Linked DNA regions of Homo sapiens: region 1 is linked to region 2. The links are contacts of gene promoters, found by promoter capture Hi-C in human tissues and cell types (Jung and others, 2019). All regions are on one chromosome and are shown on one strand. Each heading gives the region's core, a stretch centred on a gene start or on the middle of the fragment in contact. The rest is flanking DNA. Distances are from core to core; before and after follow the strand shown. Region 1 overlaps C14orf132 (chromosome 14 open reading frame 132). Region 2 holds the start of BDKRB1 (bradykinin receptor B1).

Region 1 (4,101 bases), core at 293-2,792, 190 kb before region 2:
CTTGCTCTTGTCCAAGCTGCCATCCCCTCAGGAACAGAGGGTGAATAGGATGGAGGTTCCGTATAAGAACTGACCTCTTGAAAAGTACTGTCCACCCAAGGAACAGGACTGTGGTATCCTTTTGTTTGTTTGTTTGTTTTTTGAGACAGAGTCTCGCTCTGTCACCCAGGCTGGAGTGTAGTGGTACAATCTTGGCTCACTGTAACGTCTGTCTCCTGGTTTCAAGTGATTCTCCTGCCTCAGCCTCCCCAGTAGTTGAGACTACAGGCAAACGCCACCACGTCGGGCTAATTTTTGTATTTTTAGTAGAGACGGGGTTTCACCATGTTGGCCAGGCTGGTCTCAAACTCCTGACCTCAGGTGATCCACCTGCCTCAGCCTCCCAAAATGCTGGGATTGCAGGGGTGAGCCACCACACCCAGCCATGTGGCATCCTTTTGAGGAACAACAAAAGTTACGTCCCTACATTGGCTTAGGCAAGGATTTGGTGACCAAGAACCCAAAAGCAAATGCAATAAAAACAAAGATAAATAGCTGGGACCTAATTATTCTAAAGAGCTTTTGCACGGCAAAAGGAACAGTCAGCAGAGTAAACAGACAACCCACAGAGTGGGAGAAAATCTTCACTATCTATACATCTGACAAAGGACTAATATCCAGAATCTACAACAAAATCAAACAAATCAGTAATAAAAAAAATAAACAATCCCATCAAAAAGTGAGCTAAGGACATGAATAGACAATTTTCAAAAGAAGATATGCAAATGGCCAACAAACATATGAAAAAATGCTCAACATCACTAATCATCAGGGAAATGCAAATCGAAACCACAATGCGATACCACCTTATTCCTGCAAGAATGGCCATAATCAAAAAACAGTAGATGTTGGCAGGGATGTGGTGAGCAGGAAACACTTCTACACAGCTGGTGGGAATGTAAACTAGTACAGCCACTATGGAAAACAGTGTGGAGATTCCTTAAAGAAATAAAAGTAGAACTACCATTTGATCCAGCAATCCCAGTACTGTGTATCTACCCAGAGGAAAAGAAGTCATTATGTGAAAAAGATATTTGCACAGGCATGTTTATAGCAGCACAATCCACAACTGCAAAATCGTGGAACTGACCCAAATGCCCATCAATCATCGAGTGGATAAAGAAACTAGGGTGCATATATACACACACACACACACACACACACACACACATATACATATATGTATATATATACACATATATACACATATATATGTGTATATATATGTGTATATGTATGTATATATATATATGATGGACTACTAGGCAGCCATAAAAAGGAATGAATTAATAGCATTTGCAGTGACCTGGATGAGATTGGAGACTCTTATTCTAAGTGAAGTGACTCAGGAATGGAAACCCAAACATCATATGTTCTCACTGGTATGTGGGAGCTAAGCTGTGGGGATGCAAAGGCACAAGAATGATACAATGGACTTTGAGAACTTGGGGGAAGAGTGGAAGAGGGGGCATAAAAGACTACAAATACGGTGCAGTGTCTACTGCTCGGGTGATGAGTGCACCAAAATCTCACAAATCACCACTAAAGAACTTACTCATGCAACCACAAACCACCTGTACCCCAATAACTCATGGAAAAATAAAATTAAAAAAATTAAAAAATAAAAAAGTCACGTCCTCATCTTAATTTGCTCTCCTGGCATTTTGCATTTTCCATGCTGGGATTCCGCTCTGGCCAGCTCTGTTGAACAGGCTTTGCTGGTTGGCAGGGATTGTGCACACACATGGTGCCACCTCCCTTAGCTTCTCTGGCCCTGTTTTCTTCCTAACCCAGTGTGCTGTCTTCCTCCCATACATAGGTAGGGGGTTTTGACGTGACTTCCTGGACATCATGTGTAGCGGTCGGGGGAGTTTTCTCTGGCTTCTGACCCAGCTGGGTGTACTGAAATAACTGTGAGGCTGCAGGGTTCTGAGCCGGATTGTGTTGGCACAGGATGGCCACCTCTGTGCCTTCCTCTTCTGCTCATACAGGTGCCCCTGGGGAGGAGGGTGCAGTGTGTTCCCCTGAGAGCTACATTGGTTGGAGGAGACTATAGCATTTTAGAACGTCCTCCTGGAGATTCCGATGTGCATCTCCAGTGGAGAATCTGGCCTTTTGTTGCTGTTGTTTCATGCCATGATTACTACTGAAGACAATTTTGCCATATAGAGGAGAGGATGTTTAAAAATAAACCAAAAGGATCCACTTAGGGAGGTAAACATCCTGGGCTTGCCGTTGCCCCGGCCGCCGCTTCACTCCAGTATGCGTGTGCTCGCTGATGGAGAATGATGCTCAGTTTCACTTTTATTCCTTTTGTCCTCTCCTCTTAGCCTTCATCACCCCCCACCACTTTCCCCTTCTCTCTCTCTTCCTCCAAAATAGGGATTACATAGTTTTTTTCTTGGTACCTCTGGCTTCTAGCCTGACCCCCTCCACCCCCAGCATGTAGTAGGTGCTCAGTAAAAGGTCTGTTCAGCCAATGAACGAGATAACAATTGAACAAACACATTCCCCACCCATCCTCCTAAGGCCCTGAGACTTTATTCTGCTCAGTGGCAAGGAATTTAATCTGATTAGGAGGCTGCTGACCCACACAGGGGACGCCCATTTGGTTCCAATGACACTGCTGAATCACTTCAAAGATGCTATCGAGTTAATTGGGGTAGAATAAATACTAATTTATGGCAACCTTTGCCAGCTCTTCCCCAAGGGAAAATTTTTAAACTCCCCATCCTCTTGCTTTGCTTGACCGCTGAGATCCAGTGAAAGTGGCCTGAACTTCCCATAGCTGAGCCAACAGAGGCACAGCCTCCTCCCCCTTATCCCCACCTCAGGAAGCCACAGCCACGTGGAGGAGCTCCTCAGGTACAGCCAGGGAGGTGGGGCATCTCAAACAGGCCTTGGCTGTTTCTTCTTAAGGTTCTTAGCCAGCCTCCTCTGAATGCAAGCTGTGGCTCTGGGGCTTGTCCCAGTCCCCTGAATTCTCACCATGGACCATGGGATGCGCGTGGAGGACAAGGTCCCCAGGGCCCTGGACCACACCATCTGAGCCTTTCTGTCCCCGCAGGGCAAGTGCTTCTTCCATTATTGCTAATCTAAGATGCTGTGCTCTGATGAGACAGCGTTTTCTCCCCCTGCGTTGTGCTGAGTTACTATGGCAACACTTTCAGAAGCGGTGAATTTGCTTTTTCCTCTTAATTCTGAAATGCTCTCAGGCTTTCCAAAAATATCCTTATTTCCCTGGGTCCAACTGTGGGTTGAGGCATGTCGGACACACAGAAAATAGAGCCAGCTCCTCCACCATGTATATATTACATCAAGTAGCTCAGTGCACAGCAATTGTTTGGGTAAACTTTTTTTTTTAATAAAAAATATTTTTAGCATCTGCTCTATGTCAGTAGATGTGCTAGGCACCGGGATTCAAAGAGAAGTTAGACTCAACCCGTATCCTACAAGTGCTCACAGTCCCTAAGAAAAATAGACAAGTACACAGTTAACTATAATGTAATGTGAGTACACATCTAACTATAAGATAATGTAACATAACATAATATATTGTAATGTAATATAATAGAATGTACTATAATACATGTAATGTAGTAAATATAATGTAATGTAATAAATATTTTGTCAGTTCTAGGAATAAATTAGTGTAAGACCCCAATAGAGAAAGCTGTTAATTCAACCTGGAGTGAGGAGGGTTAGGAGTTGGTAGATCTAGAGTTTGATTTCTGATCAATTACGTATGGGCTGTGCCAGCTCAGGGAAATGAACATCCCTCTCTGAGCTCCAAACCTCTATCTCATGCTGAGCTGTTGTGAAAATGAGGGGACACCATGAAGTTACAGCAGCCAGTCTCAGAGCAGCTGTTACTCAAAAGATACTGCTCTTCCTTGCCCAGGTGCTGGGGTGCCCAGAAGGGGCTCAGGAGAGGAAGTGAGCATAGATAGAGGGACCTGCAGGCAGCAGCGTGCCAGCACTTCTGTCAAAGGCAGTCGCGCCAGCAGCAAGGTGGCCGCGTGAGCACACCTGGCACATCAGTTCACAGGGAGATAGGAAAGC
Region 2 (4,037 bases), core at 659-3,158:
TGAGGTCGGGAGTTTGAGACCAGCCTAACCAACATGGAGAAACCCCGTCTCTACTAAAAATACAAAATTAGCTGGGTGTGGTGGTGTGTGCCTGTAATCCCAGCTACTCGGGAGGCTGAGGCAGGAGAATCGCTTGAACCCAGGAGGCGAAGGTTGCAGTGAGCCGAGATCGCTCCATTGCACTCCAGCCTGAGCAACAAGAGCGAAACTCAGTCTCAAAAAAAAAAGAAAAAAGGCAAGCGAAGCCTCAGAAGAGGGTCCTCAGTGCCTACCCACTTCTTAGTCCCCTGCTATCTTCTGCCACACTATAGGGACCTGCTTTTCTTTCACAGATTTGGGGTCCCCTCCCCCTGCCCTCAGCCCCACTCCCTTGGCCCCAGAGACAGTAGGAGACCCTCTGCTCCCCTGAGCCCGGGCCTGTCTCGCATTTCCCGTGGAGATGAGCAACAAGGGGAAACGTGGGTCTTCTTAAAGAACTTTCCTTTCCGCCCTCCACCACCTTGGCAAGGCAGCCAGATGCATCTCCGAAGTCCAGCTCACTCAGGCCAGCTCTCTTCACAGACTGTCTTCCAGCAAGAGGCAAAGCAGAGATGAGACCTGCACGTGCTCTTTGTGGCAGAGCTGGCCTTATACGCACTCCTGGGTGAATAAACAGGGAGACATCTCCTAAGAACAAACGCTTCTCAGAAACAGTATAGTCTAAACTCATACTGAAGGGAGAATAAGCCAGCCACGGGCTGGAGAGACCCCCGCCTACATTACTAAGTAACAGGAAAGGCTAAGATTTGGAGCCTTCCTCCGGTTCAGATCTATCCCGGGAGTAATGGAAGATGCTTGCCTGTTGACAATTTTTTTTTATTAAAAATCCCACCCAGGAGGTCTCTCCTGATAGGAGGGGACCATCCTATCCTCTAAGGCAAATTCCAGCTTCTTCCCTGAAATGTACATCCGCTACTGAGCCTCAGAATGCTATTTGTTCCACCTACTTCCACAGTTTTAAGGTCTTCAGCAACAGGAGAAGACAGCAGGAAAACTTGAAGTGCAGTTGGCTCCCGCTGAGATGTCACTAGCAGAAAAAGGGAACACAAGCAAAAGGCAAGATTCTAAAGACAGAGGTGACACCTTCTGCTCCAAACATTTGGAGGGTCACCTTTCCAGAAGTCAGACTCGAAGTCCTGAATTCTGGCATGAATGAGTTCTCCTACGTGTAGGGGGTGGCCTGGAAAGATCTTAATTTGTAAGTTGACAGGTAAGGGGCCTTCAGTTGGAGAATCTTGTCACCTGATTCTCAAAGCCAAAAATATCTTACTGTCTGAAACATGAGGTCTTGAGTAGTTCAACTTGACCCATGCAGACATAATTTGAGAGACGCCAAGGAGGATTAGGAAAAAATGTATCTGGTCTTACTCAACTCTGAACATTGCATGAGTCAAACGTTTTCCTAGCTCTCTGTTTGTGTGATGGGTCCACTCTGATGGATTCTTGGCGATGTATCTTTCATGACCAAAATTCAAAAGAGGCCATTCGAAGTGGCTCCCACAAAAGCTGCTGCAGAGCCCCAGACATTCAGAAGCCAATAGTGAAGGGGCCAAAAGCCATCCCTCAATGTTCACTGACACTTTGCGAGCCTTGGGGCAAGTTGGCGATGTCAAAACATGTTTTTAGGGCGTGTTTGCCAACATACAGGTCTTGGGCAGGATTGCAGACCTCTGCAGATGGTACCAAAGTAAAGGGGGAGATGGTAGCTGAATAATCTCTTATCATCCCTAAAGTGCAAAGTGAAATGAGAGTGGATTTTTCCTTCCAAATCCACTTGGAGTGAGTCCCGAAAGACTCACTTTTGCGGCAATCCCCACAATGACATCACTGGAGCGGAGGTTATATAATTTAAAGCAACCACATCTCCACAGCACTTCCCAGAAGAGAAAACTCCTCCAAAAGCAGCTCTCACTATCAGAAAACCCAACTACAGTTGTGAACGCCTTCATTTTCTGCCTGAGTAAGTAAATGACCACCTTTTTTTTTTCTTTTATGAGAGTACAATATGAGAGGAAATCTGTGTCTCTTAGAAAAACAAAAAACTTCCTTTTACACCTACCTATTGGCAAAATTTTCCACTTCTGTGAGGGTACTTTTTAAAAATAATTCTAAATCAATTTAAGAGACTTTTATTTCATGCCTAGTTTGGGTCTTAATTGCTTTTCCAGAACAGGAGGAGGAGGGAAAGGTTTTAGAACTCGTAGGAAGGTTCCAGTAGCTCCTTATATCAAAGTCAGGTGAAACATGTCAGGGCTGAATGCAGCCACCAGAGTTCGCATGGACTGACCAGTTACAGCCTGCAAATTCTGAATCATAAAAATTAAATTAGTCTCTCTGGGATGGCTTACAAGATTTCATAAGACCAATAACTGGTTGGGTTATTCGTGGCTTGAAAGTAGCATCTTACTATGTGACCGTGCTGATGGTCTTTAACATCTGTGGCTGAATTTCCAATGCCTTTAACATCACCATGCTGTTGAAATTGGAGTTAATTTGAAGAATTAACTAATTTGTTGAAGAAAGTCACACTGTCTCATAGCCTAGGTTAAAATGTGCAGAATTCAGAAAATACCACACAGGAATTACAGAATTGCCATCTCTTGTAGACTTGCCCAGTGCCCCTTCTGAGTTCTTCAAATAGGGTCACATATTACTAACAATATCCAGAGATATTGTTTATTGAGCACCTACTATGTTCCAGGCAAATATCAGAGCTAAAGCTGAAAACTGGCAAAGGAAGATTTCTCCTCTCTAGCCAACTTTATAAACACAGACAGCAGCAGGTGAGGACAATCCCTTTAAAAATAAGCCCCATGTGAGCAGACACATGCTGTGGCTGCAGTGGCCCCAGCCACCTCCCCGTCCTGGGGATGGGGGCGGTGTCCACTGACCTAATCAGGTTCGAGCTAAAGTCCCTGCGTAGCTGGTCGTCTCTGGCTTCCTGGGCAGGGTGCAGCCTCACCCCCGTGCTGGTTTCCTAAGGCTGCTATAATTAATTATCACAAAGTGAGTGGCTTAAAACGATGCAAGTTATTATCTTACAGTTCTGGAGATCAGGAGTTCAAACTCAGTCTCGCTGAGCTAAAGTCAAGATATTGGCTTGGCTTTGTTCTCCATCCCCATGATTCAATTATCTCCCACCAAGTCCCTCACACAACACGAGAGAATTATGGGAGCTACAACTCAAGATGAGATTTGGGTGGGGACACAGCCAAACCATATCAGTGCTCAACACCCTCCCATCTCTTCTCAAACTCTCAATGCCCCAGCCCCTCCACCACAGGTCAGGACCTCGCCTCCTTTCTCCCTGAGAAATCCCAACCAATCGCCGGGGAATTCTACAGATTCCCACCTGCCAGCCTCTGTCACCATAGACCTCAGCTTCCTGGCCATCATCAGAGATAGCTAGGAGAGGGATGGTCAGGCCATGTGTGTGCACACTGCCGGGGCACCCCAATAGTCAAAAATTATTTCCCCCAAAAATTAGTATTTACAGGTAGAAAGAGAGAGGAAAGAAGGAAGGAAGGAAAGAAGGAAGGGAAGGAAGGAAGGAAGGAAAGCAGGATGGGAGGGAGGGAAGAAGGGAGGGAGGAAGGGAGGGATGGAGGAAGGAAGGAAGGAAGGAGGGAAGGAGGGTAGGGAGGGAAGGAGAGAAGGAGGGAATGAAGGGAAGGAAGGAAGGAAGGGGAAAAAATCCAACAAAATGGTTATATTATATTGATGGTGTTATAAAGTAGTTCTAGATAAAAACTATTTTCAAAAAAGTCTTTAAATATATATGCATACACCTATGAATATTAAAGCAAAAGAAAACATGTTTATGTTAATCAACTGAACATTTAAAAATAAGATAAGCAAAATAATTGTTCTTGTTGTATATTCACATGCTACAGTTTCTTGTACCTGACTGATACCCTGTCACTGGCATTTTTCACAAGAATGTATTTTCTTCAGTGGGGTCTTGTTATTTTTAATTTTTCCATATAATTGCCTGAAAT

The links. Contacts are between HindIII fragments. The study calls those that stand out against the background at their distance.
Region 1: a fragment that was not itself captured here is called in contact with the fragment with the promoter of BDKRB1 in region 2 in 1 of the 25 tissues and cell types used here (IMR-90 fibroblasts).

The regions. Positions count from the first base shown.
Region 1 is chr14:96,063,185-96,067,285 of GRCh38, forward strand. The region is part of intron 1 of C14orf132 (chromosome 14 open reading frame 132); the gene reads left to right. Among named protein-coding and RNA genes, the nearest start is that of C14orf132, 26 kb to the left of the region's middle. The HindIII fragment of the contact is 6,124 bases long and covers 1-4,101 here.
Region 2 is chr14:96,254,302-96,258,338 of GRCh38, forward strand. BDKRB1 (bradykinin receptor B1) reads left to right here and starts at 1,909. Exons shown (of 3, transcript NM_000710.4): 1 at 1,909-1,999. The HindIII fragment of the contact is 16,224 bases long and covers 1-4,037 here.